Regions from separate parts of the Homo sapiens genome. Here regions 2 and 3 are each linked to region 1. The links are contacts of gene promoters, found by promoter capture Hi-C in blood cells and fetal thymus (Javierre and others, 2016). All regions are on one chromosome and are shown on one strand. Each heading gives the region's core, a stretch centred on a gene start or on the middle of the fragment in contact. The rest is flanking DNA. Distances are from core to core; before and after follow the strand shown.

The links. The method cuts DNA at HindIII sites, captures the fragments that hold promoters and counts their contacts. A CHiCAGO score of 5 or more calls a contact.
Region 2: a fragment that was not itself captured here is called in contact with the fragment with the promoter of RANBP10 in region 1 in 1 of 17 cell types (neutrophils); the score reaches 6.1 in neutrophils.
Region 3: a fragment that was not itself captured here is called in contact with the fragment with the promoter of RANBP10 in region 1 in 1 of 17 cell types (naive B cells); the score reaches 6.1 in naive B cells.

What each region holds. Positions count from the first base shown.
Region 1 is chr16:67,804,666-67,808,066 of GRCh38, forward strand. RANBP10 (RAN binding protein 10) reads right to left here and starts at 1,895. Exons shown (of 14, transcript NM_020850.3): 1 at 1,637-1,895; 2 at 763-874. The coding sequence starts at 1,871. It overlaps TSNAXIP1 (translin associated factor X interacting protein 1), which reads left to right and starts at 2,224. Exons shown (of 16, transcript NM_001288990.3): 1 at 2,224-2,531. The coding sequence starts at 2,485. RefSeq lists enhancers at 1,018-1,638, 1,639-2,258, 1,964-2,193 and silencers at 1,614-1,833, 2,334-2,453. The HindIII fragment of the contact is 6,221 bases long and covers 319-3,401 here.
Region 2 is chr16:67,545,354-67,549,043 of GRCh38, forward strand. It overlaps RIPOR1 (RHO family interacting cell polarization regulator 1), which reads left to right. Exons shown (of 22, transcript NM_024519.4): 18 at 23-181; 19 at 311-507; 20 at 596-679; 21 at 788-878; 22 at 1,013-1,433. The coding sequence ends at 1,110. Among named protein-coding and RNA genes, the nearest start is that of CTCF-DT, 15 kb to the right of the region's middle. RefSeq lists an enhancer at 1,644-1,703 and a silencer at 1,653-1,947. The HindIII fragment of the contact is 5,451 bases long and covers 1-3,690 here.
Region 3 is chr16:67,482,586-67,486,178 of GRCh38, forward strand. It overlaps AGRP (agouti related neuropeptide), which reads right to left and starts at 962. Exons shown (of 4, transcript NM_001138.2): 1 at 932-962; 2 at 684-816; 3 at 440-525; 4 at 1-233. The coding sequence starts at 813. The coding sequence ends at 51. ATP6V0D1-DT (ATP6V0D1 divergent transcript) reads left to right here. Exons shown (of 4, transcript NR_184227.1): 2 at 1,525-1,743. The HindIII fragment of the contact is 370 bases long and covers 1,275-1,644 here.

The DNA of each region.
Region 1 (3,401 bases), core at 645-3,144:
GTGATAGGATTACAGGTATGCCAGTTAATTTTTTTGTATTTTTAGTAGAGACAGGGTTTCAGCATGTTTGCCAGGCTAGTCTCCAACTCCTGACCTCAGGTGATCTGCCCATCTTAGCCTCCCAAATTGCTGGGATTACAGGCGTGAGCCACCGTGCCTGGCTCCTAATGCTGACTTTAATGAGGACCTTCCTAAAGTTGATCCAACTAGTAGTGTTCAAGTCCTTGGACTGAAAAACAAGTTTATGAGCAGCAAGGTCACCTGATTCTGATCATGTGTATGCTGTTTACCCTGAGATGACAGGCCGGTGGCCACAGAAGCTTTCATGAATGCTGCAAAGACTCTACTATCTCTTTGAAGGCTACCAGGGCCTCCACATGACTAAATGCCATAAAAAAGAACCTCATGAATACAGCAAGAATGTGAAAGGAAGGAAGTCACAAAAACACCACATGCTCATGAGGGAAACTCCATTCTGGACACTAAATTTTTAAAGTAAACTTGTTACTTGTTTGCCTAACCTTCTAGGTATCAAATTACATCATCACTAAAAATAATCCCTGCTTTACCCCCAACACACCCACTGGCCATCAAGATCTGCTGCTTAGACCAGACCATGCCCACAGTCAGGAAATAATGGCAGCCCAGACCCATGCGGCTCCCCAGCTCACATCAGCAACAAGTGCCAGCCAAAGGACCTGAACTCTGACCACAGGGATCAGCTCCATGATCAGGGAAAGAGGGTGGTCATGAAGGGCTTACCCATCTCTTCCTTTGCTGACAATCTTCACTTCAAAGTAATAAATGCCACAGGCAGCAGGTATGGGGTGGGTGGCACGCACTGAGGCCGCATCTTTGTGATTTTTGCCATGACCTAACAGGAGAGGGCAAGTAAGAAATTTCAGCAGAAGGAAATGCAAATGGAAGCCTCATTTTTCTCTGCAACTCCTCCATGACAACTCCACTCCTCTGTGGCCAGAGGACGCACTTACACAGGCCGAGGAATCATTAGACAACTGAATAAACACTTAAACCTTCCACCTTTGCCTCACCTCCTCCTGAGAACAGCAGTCCTGCCTGAGACACTGCCCATACAAACAAAACAAGGGTAGAGGCAATGTGAGAGATACTCAAGTGCTGCTGGCAGCCTCTCTAGAATCCAGGCAGCCCACCTGGGAGGCCAGGGGAAGAAGGATGAGGCCGACCTGGAAGACACCCCCCAAACTCTAGCACGGAACCCCAGGCTCAGTCTAGGATGCCTGGCAGGTGGGGAAGCCCATGAGTCTCACGCTAATGGTAGGTATGTGACCACCCCTTTCTTCTAAGCAGTGGCGAAAGGTCCCGCTGCCGTTGGCGCCAGCCTAGGATAAGCACGGAGGCCCTGGAGTGGAAGGTCCGGCCCAGCACTGGGTTTGGACACCTGTTGCGGTTCTCTTGACGGCAGGTGTCTCAGGACAGAGAACAGGCAGTCAGCCCTCGGCCTGTTCAGCCTCACCACCCTGGACATCCTGAAAGGGCCAAGCCCTAACTTGGAGCACCTAGGCAGGGAAAGGGAGGTGATAGGGCGGGGGCCTGGCAGCAGAGCCACCCCACGGACGCTCTAGCCTTAATTCCCCCCAGCCTGACGGGCCGATACCTTTGTAGTGGACGCGGAGGTTGCCCTGGGAGAGACCAATGTAGTTGTATTTGTCCTTGGGGCTCCAGGAGCGCGGCAGCGGAGTCTCTTGCTGGTTGACCGCGGGATACAGGCGCTGCAAGCGCCGGCTCAGCTCCTGCTCCCCAGGGGACGGCAGCCCGCCCCCAGCGCCCCCGCCGGAGGAGTCCCCAGGCTGCGGGTTCCCAGCTCCCGGGTCTGCCGTCGCTGCCGCCATCTTGGAGGGAGCTACTATTGTGTCACTGGGGGCGGGGAGGAGCGGGACCAGATCCGCCCCGCTCAGCCAATGGCCCGTGAGCCTCCCTGGGCCGCAGGGAAACCGAGTCCGAGTCCGGCACCCCTCTTTGGACACTGACACGCCTTACCACATTTCGAACTCCATACCCCACAATGCAGAGCTCTCGAGAGGCGGAGCAACTCGGGCTGGTAGAGAATTCTGGGAGATGTAGTATAACCGTCCTCAGCCATAAGCCTGTCCCATCGAGACGTCGGGACACCGAAAACTACCATTCCCGCCGGCAAAGCGGCTCCGGCCTCTCAGCACACTTCCCTCCCCATGGCCTCTGTTCATCCCCCTGCCTCAGTTCTGGTACCTGGGGTCAAATCGGCTGTAGTGGTTGACTCTCAGGGCACCCGCTGCCGGGTCCCAGTCCACCTTTGCTACTTTGTCCTACTCCCAGCCCGCGGGCGCTAGGCTCGGGGGCGTGGCGCATCCCTGACTCCGCCCCCGCCGCGGGGGGGCCTCTGGGGCCTGGTCGCCATGGCGACCGGCTGTACGCTACCACAGCTTCCCAGGCCGCGGGTGCTGATTGCCCGCCTGCCCGTGGGTCATGGCCTGCCAGCAGTCGCGGTACCACAGCTTCTCGTCCGCGTCGAGGTAGGCGCTGGCAGGGATGAGGGCAGAGATGAGGGTTTGAGTACTTCTAGAGAGGGAAATGGCACTTGATCCGGACCTCTGCACCTCCTGCTGGCCTCTGACCATTGATCTAGGGCTCCAGCACCACAGAGTCAATGGTTAGAATCGGGCTGATTTAGCCCAGTGAAGACGTTACGTGCTAGCAAAACGGTAGGCGCACTTTATCATTACTAGTAACAACCAGCTTGTATTGAATGTACTATATGCCAAATGCTTTATATACCACATTTTTAAATATTTTATTTTTGAGACAAGATCTCGTTCTGTCGCCCAGGCTGGAGTGCAGTGGCACTACTACGGCTCACTGCAGCCTCGACCTCCCGGGCTCAAGCGATCCTTCTACCTCAGCCTCCCGAGTAGCTGGGACTACAGGCATGCGCCACTACGCTTGGCTAATTTTTGGGTGTTTCTTTGTTCGTTTGTTTTTTGTAGAGACGAGGTTTCACCACGTTGCCCAGGCTGGTTTCGAACTCCTAGACTCAAGCGACCCTCCCACTTCGACCTCTCAAACTGGGATTACAAGCGTGAACCCCCACACCCGGCCTACGTACCATATTTAATCCTCACAACAACTGTATAAAGTAGTAATATTACCATTGAACAAGTAAAGAAATACTTTAGAAGCCTGGAGAGATCATCCTCTGGGTAGCTTCTGCCTGTACTCAGGTGTATAGCCTCTGGGTACTGCAAAATATGACCAGCTCCATCAGCCTGGAGAGCCATACATACGGATTAAAACAAAAATTTTGGCTAAATCGTTTTCTAGTTTTGGGACTTCAGACAGGGCCCTTCAAGTTCCAGGCCTCAGCTTATATATCTCAAACATGGGAA
Region 2 (3,690 bases), core at 345-2,844, 260 kb before region 1:
CCCATGCTACTGCCTCCTGCAGTGTGTGTGAAGTTCCTGGAGGATGCCCTGGGGCAGAAGCTGCCCAGAAGGCCCCAGCCAGGGCCTGGAGAGCAGCTCACAGTCTTCCAGTTCTGGAGTTTTGTGGAAACCTTGGACAGCCCCACCATGGAGGCCTACGTGACTGAGACCGCTGAGGAGGGTGAGGCGGTGGCCCTGATCACATAGTGGCCTCTTGGGGTCTGAGGACATGAGGACAAGCCCTCCCCAACCTCGGGGGCTCCTCACCCTGCCACCTTGCCCACCCACCCACCATATCCCCTTTTTTCAGTGCTACTGGTGCGGAATCTGAACTCGGATGATCAGGCTGTTGTGCTGAAGGCCCTGAGATTGGCGCCCGAGGGGCGTCTGCGAAGGGACGGGCTGCGGGCCCTCAGCTCCCTGCTCGTCCATGGCAACAACAAGGTCATGGCTGCTGTCAGCACCCAGCTCCGGAGCCTGTCACTGGGCCCTACCTTCCGGGAGAGGGTGAGTTGGACAGGGCTCCCTTGAGGGCGAGGGCTGGGGTCCTGGACTCCCACTGTCTGGCTAAGTCTGTCCTCCCACCCTTCCACAGGCCCTCCTGTGCTTCCTGGACCAGCTGGAGGATGAGGACGTGCAGACTCGAGTGGCTGGCTGCCTGGCCCTAGGCTGCATCAAGGTGACCCCTGCCAACCCTCCCACCCCTCTGTCCGCTTCCGGCACCCCCACCCCTGAAACCCTCCCATCTGCTCCCCTGAGCCCACCTCAATGCTCCCTCCCCTGACAGGCTCCCGAGGGCATTGAGCCCCTGGTGTACCTCTGCCAAACTGACACAGAAGCTGTGAGGGAAGCTGCCCGGCAAAGCCTACAGCAGTGTGGTGAGGCTGGGGGATGGAAGAGATGGGTGGAGTTCTGGGACATCTTGGCTGATGGGAGTAGGAGAGATGGCGCCAGGGGTGGGAGAGTGGGATGGGGCTAGGGCCACCCTTGACCTCATCCTCACTCATTACAGGAGAAGAGGGACAGTCTGCCCATCGACGGCTGGAGGAGTCCCTGGACGCCCTGCCCCGCATCTTTGGGCCTGGCAGCATGGCCAGCACAGCATTCTAAACTATTCACCCATGGGTTCCTGGTGCCCCTTTCCCCCCACTTTCAGGGCTCACCAGGCACTGGCAGGGAGGGTAAGGGCTGGCTCCAGATACCCCTCCCCCACAGATTCCTAGCAATGAAAATCTAATATATTCTTCTGTTGCCCCTGGGGTTGGAGAGTCAGTGCCTGCAGTCAAGTGCCTCCCAGCCTCGGCTCAGCACATCCCTTGCCACAAATCAGTGTCTGGGGCTTGGCCACCCTGCCGCTGCCCAGCCACATCCCTTGGTTTTGTATTTTATTTACAGAGTTTTACAGAAAATAAAAAAGCAAAATGTCTTTCCTACATGGCCTGGTACACTCCTGACCCTCTGCTCCAACACCCTCTGGCTGTGGCCCTGCCTGACACTGGTGTGTTCACACTGCAGCTGTGACAGTGCCATGTGCACTTGCCCTGGAAATTCAGGTGGAAGAAAGCCCAGAGGCTGGAACTGGGCTTGGAGAAGAGAGCAGGGGAAAAGGGTGGTTCAGCCTGCAGGTGGGGCCTACCCTGGGCCTGGGAACTACGGCCCAAGGTGGAGCTAAACTGGAGTTGGCCCAGAAAACACCAAAGGGTGCCAATCCCAGGCTGTGGCCTGGGAGCAAAGGGGAAGGGAAAGGAAAAACAGGAAGGGAAAGGAGGCACGGGGTGGCTGGAGCTTCTGCCCACCAGGGGGCAGCAGATCCGCGTCAGCAGATGCCAGGTTTGGGTCTTCTGCAGCCTGGGCAGCTTTCTGCAGAGGGGGCTGAAGGAGCTCCTTGAAGCTGGATGGCAGGGGAGAGGAGCTCCTTGCGGAGGGGAAGAGCTGGGACCTGGGAGGCAGGAGACCTGGATGGCTAACCTGTGACCCAAGACAGCAAGTCCCTTCCCTCTCCAGCTGTCTCCCCCTCTATAATAACAAACGTGCCTGAACTCTGTGATCCCCAACAGCCGGCCAACCTGTGCTGCTTCAGGAAGCAGAGATCCCAGGAGAGGGCTTGCCTTTGCCCCGCCTCGCCTTGCCCCAGAGCTGCCTGGCCAGTGAATGTGTTAACCCCAGAAGGCTGAGTCCTGCGTGAGGAACTGGAGTGTGGGGTGGGACTTCAGGATGGCAGGCCTGTTCTAAGGAGGGGCTGAGGGAGGCCCACACCCGTGGCTAGAGAAACAGGCTCTCCACCCTTCCCCTCTCCCTCAGCACTTCCAGTATCCAGGGGCAAGGAGGTGGTGCATACGCAGCACTTCCCTGACTCATTGAGGCCACTCTGATGTCCCAGTACCTGTGGCAGCAGCTTGGCCTGTGCAGGACGTGTCACGTTGGGGAGCCTGCCCTCAGGAAGAGCCAGTGAAGTGCCAACAGTCCTCTGGAGGGTGACCCAGATCCCCAGGGAGCCCTGCCCCCCAGTGTTTTAGAGCTAGGTATGAAGAGGTTTGGCTGGGGCTTTAACCACCTGCTGGGGAAGCCAAGCTGAGCAGAAAAAACGGCAACAGGAAGAAGCACAGGAAGCACCTGTGTGGATGCAAGTGGCTCATTCCAGACGCTGGGGCGAGGGTGGGCAGGGGCAGGCAGGCAGCCCTCTGCACACTGGCGCGGCTCTTTGCTCTCTGGGTAACGAAGGGTGGCACGGGATGGTGCAGCTCAGTATTTGGGGTGGTGAGCTGGAGCAGCATGGGGCAGAGGAGGCAAACAAATGATGGAGACCAGGCCAGCACCCAAGGCTGGCCACAGCTGGGGCCTGCCCCAGGGGTCCCTGGAGGAGGCCGGCAATCCCAGAACCGCCCCTAGCAGCCCTCAGTCCTGAGGCCCCCACAAGAGGCCCATTGGTAGAGCAGGGCTATCCACCTGCATCAAAAGCATAGCCTGTCATGGTGGGGGAAGAGGAAGTGAACACTGGTTGACCAGGTCCTGGGAAAGTGCAGATGGGGGTGACTGAGCCTGCATGAGCTCACAGCTCAGTACACAGGAGAGAGCAGGGCTTGGGCAAGAAATGGAGGATGGAAAAATGTCATCATCCCAGCCAAGGGGTCCACTGGCGTTGTCACTAAGAATCCCTGCTCTCCAATGCTGGGAAGGGACAGACCCTAGACTCTGTGCTCTGCAGAGTCCTGAGGCCAGAGCCTAGTATTCAGCTCTAGCCAGGGGTGGGTGTGAGGATCGGAAGGGGACAGGAGCTGGAATGAGGGCACTGTGAGCACAGCCAGGTGAAGCACATGATGCCTATCTGGCTCAGAGCAGCATGAATCAACCCCAGGACAGCCAGTCAGCCTCTCTCCATCAGTGGCTTGAAGGCAGGCTGGATGGCCTCCTACACCCAGGCCCATGCCCAGGTTCCTGAGATGGTGGAGGGGCAGAGAGAACCCTTGTCCTCCCACCTCTGTATCTCTCCTGACCCCCTCTGCCTCACAGGGGCCTCCCACAGGGCAAACCTGCCCATAGCATTCTCCCACCCCCTACCCTGCTGTCATGTGGGTCAGGGAGGCAGGTGTTCCTGCTGTTTGGGACTGAGGACAGTTGGGAGCCCCTTGCCTCAGGTGATGGGCAGTTGACGATACCATCATGAGTCAAAGGTATCAGGGCAGGGAAAGC
Region 3 (3,593 bases), core at 210-2,709, 320 kb before region 1:
TATTCGAGTTTCCTTGCCCCTACCCTAGCCCCGACCCTGACGTTGGCCAGCTAGGTGCGGCTGCAGGGATTCATGGCAGTACCCAGCTTGCGGCAGTAGCAGAAGGCATTGAAGAAGCGGCAGTAGCACGTGGCACATGGGTCACAGCAAGGCACCTGCTGTCCCAGGCAGGACTCATGCAGCCTTACGCAGCGACGTGAGGAGCGGGGCTCGCGGTCCTGCAGGTCTAGTACCTGCAGGGGTGGGGAACCAGCACAGGCCTCTAAAGACAGATCCAGGGATCTTACCTGTCCCAACCTGTGCAGGATGGCAGTGGAGCATGGGAAGGGGTGGTCGGTAGTGTCGTCGCTGGTGAGGGAGTTTGGAGCTGGGGAGAGGAGCTAATACCCAATGCCCCCTCCCAAGGGCCACCACCTTACCCTTTTCCCTGAGCAGTTACCTCTGCCAAGGCCTGAGCCTCCTGCAACAGATCCTCTTCTGCCTGTTCTGCAGTTGTCTTCTTCAGTGGGGCCCGCAGGCCCAGGCCTGGGGCAGAGGATGTGAGGGCAGGAACCCCCATGCACAAAGCACCCACCTCCCAGGGGAGGGTTTGGGAAGGGAGAAAGAGGGTTTATGCCAGGGGAGACTATTTGTGGCCAGAGGGTATTCAGGCCCCGCCCAGTCCCACCCTTGCTCACACTGACCTGGGAGCTCTGGGAGCAGGGCCTGGTCAGGCCTTCTGATGCCCTCCATGGGGGCCAAGCCCATCTGGGCTCCTCGCGTGGCAGGCAGTGCCAGCAGCAGGGCACAGCTCAGCACCGCTGCGGTCAGCATGGCCTGGCTCAGCAGGAAGATGTACCACTTAGTCCCTCCTTATCCTTGGAGTCCCCTCTAGGTGCCCAGATAGAGACCCCACAGAGAGGAGGAGTCCCTGCCCAACCTGAGGACTCACCTCTGCCTCCGGGATTCTTGCCTAGAGAGTTCCCGGCCACCCCGTGCCCTTGGCTTATATGGCAGGGCCTAATGAAGGGCCACACGTGACTGATCCCTGCAGCCAGGCCGTGAAGGACCCTTCCTGGAGGGTGGGGGCACAGTTCAGGCCCTCACTCCCTGAACCTGAGCCTTTTGTTCTACAAGAGGAGTGCCTATCTCCAATTTGGGGTGAGGTTTCCAGGAGCCGATTAAAATTTGGGAGCAAGAGAGGGTGCCCAGGGTCCACAAATTTCCACAGGACAGGGACCTAGGAGCTGAGCAGGGCTAGAACCATTAGCAATAACAAGGCAGGCGGCCCTGAAAGCTTAATTTAATTTGTGGCCCCAGAGATGCTTACTCAACCCCTATGTGGCATGTTGTTTCCTGTGCTTCCAAGAATTCGGGTCAAGGACATTGGAGCGGGTGATGGGCCAATGGCCACTGTTGGGCAGGGGTAGGTGCAGAACCAGAACCTGGGTTTCTTTGGAGGGAAAGGGGAAGGAAAAGCCCACCTAACCAATCCTAGGCCCTCCTGACTACATTTCTGGTCCTCCCCTCCCTTTCTCCCTCCAGGTTTCTCCAAGACCGCCCACTCCTGCTCCTGTCCCCAAACCCCTTTCTGCCTAGGGTTCCTGGAAGCCAAGGAAACAGAACGAACTGTTCCCTGGGTGGGCGAGCCACTGCAGAGTACAAAGCTTTCAGGCCGCCTGCCTCATTAGCACTAATGGCTGCTCCCTTCCGCCCTGTGTCGTCAGGACTGTCTATGCCTGGTCTCATCAGCACAAGGCTGGGGTAAGGACTGCCCTTTTGTGGAGATGGCAGGACATACAGGACCCTGCTGCCCCTGCCTTCCCTCACCCCACTGCAGAGCTGTTTATCACACACGTGTCCATCTGGGAAAGGAATGCAGGCTGAATCAGCTTTGAGAGGATCGCAAGGCCCCAGTGCACAAACTGGGTTGGCACAAGGCAGTGGAAAAAAGATGAAGGGGGCCAGGTATGGTGGCTCACACCTGTAATTCCAGCATTTTGAGAGGCCAAGGTGGGAGGATCACAAGGCCAGGGGTTTAAGACCAGCCTGGGTATCATGGTGAGACCCCGTTGCTACAAAAAATAAAAAAATAGCTGGGTGTAGTGGTGCATGCCTGTAGTAGAGGCTGAGGTGGGAGGATGGCTTGAGCACAGGGATTCAAGAGTGCAGTGAGCTATGACTGCATCACCACACTCCAGGCTGAGCGACAGAGCAAGATCCTGTCTCAAAAAGAAAAGAAGATAAAGGGTGGCCAGGCACGGTGGCTCACGCCTGTAATCCCAGCATTTTGGGAGGCCAAGGTGGGCGGATCACTGGAGGTCAGGAGTTCAAACCAGCTTGGCCAATATGGTGAAACCCTATCTCTACTAAAAATACAAAAGTTATTCAGGCATGGTGGCACATGCCTGTAATCCCACCTACCCGGGAGGCTGAGGCAGGAGAATCACTTGTAACACGGGAGGCAGAGACTGCAGTGAGCAGAGATCGCACCACTGCACTCCAACCTGGGTGACAGAGTGAGACTCCATCTTAAAAAAAAAATGCTATTTAAAATGAAATGAAGCAATCCATACTCCCAACATTTATATATACTGGGACATCCAAGAAATTAAAATCACACCTCATTATGTCTTTTTCTTTGAGTCAGGGTCTCACTCTGTCACCCAGGCTGGGCCTGGTCAGCACCCATGCTATGGAGAGCTCTTCATGGTCTGGTGTGGACAGAGTGGGAGTGGAAGATCTCCTCCCACACAGGTGCTCAGTGTCTTACCTCACCTACGGGCAGCAGCTGTCTTCACCTGAGTGTGTGCACACAGGTGTATCAGCCCCATGGGCAGTGATGGACGAGGGCTGAGGCACTCACAGGGCAGCCCATGCCCCGGTCAGGTCCAGTGGGGGAGATATCAAGAAAACCCAGCGCCAAAATGCAATGAGCTGTGATCGCGCTACTGCACTCCAGCCTGGGCGACAAAGCAAGTTGCCGTCTCAAAAAACAAAAACAAAACTAAACAAAAAAAAAAAAACGGCCAGGTGTAGTGATTCACACCTTCTTGAGCCCAGGAGTGGCAACATAGTGAGACTCTGTCTCTACCAAAAAAAAAAAATTTAATTAGCTGAATGTGGTGATGCACACCTGTAGTCCCAGCTACTCAGGAGACAGGGAGGAGGATAGCTTCGGCCCAGGAGATTGAGGCTGCAGTGAGCCATGGTGGTGGTGGCTCACGCCTATAATCCCAGCACTTTGGGAGGCTGAGGCAGGCAGATCACTTGAGCCTAGGAATTCGAGGCCAGCCTGGGCAACATGGCGAAACCCAGTCCCCATTAAAAAAAAAAAAAAAAAAGGCCAGGTGCGGTGGCTCACGCCTGTAATCCCAGCACTTTGGGAGGCCGAGGTGGGCAGATCACAAGGTCAGGAGATGGAGACTATCCTGCCTAGCACAGCAAAACCCCATCTCTACTAAAAATACAAAAAAAAAAAAAATTTAGCCGGGCGTCATAGCGGGCACCTGTAATCACAGCTACTTGGGAGGCTGAGGCAGGAGAATGGTGTGAACCCAGGAGGCAGAGCTTGCGGTGAGCCGAGATCGCGCCACTGCACTCCAGCCTGGGTG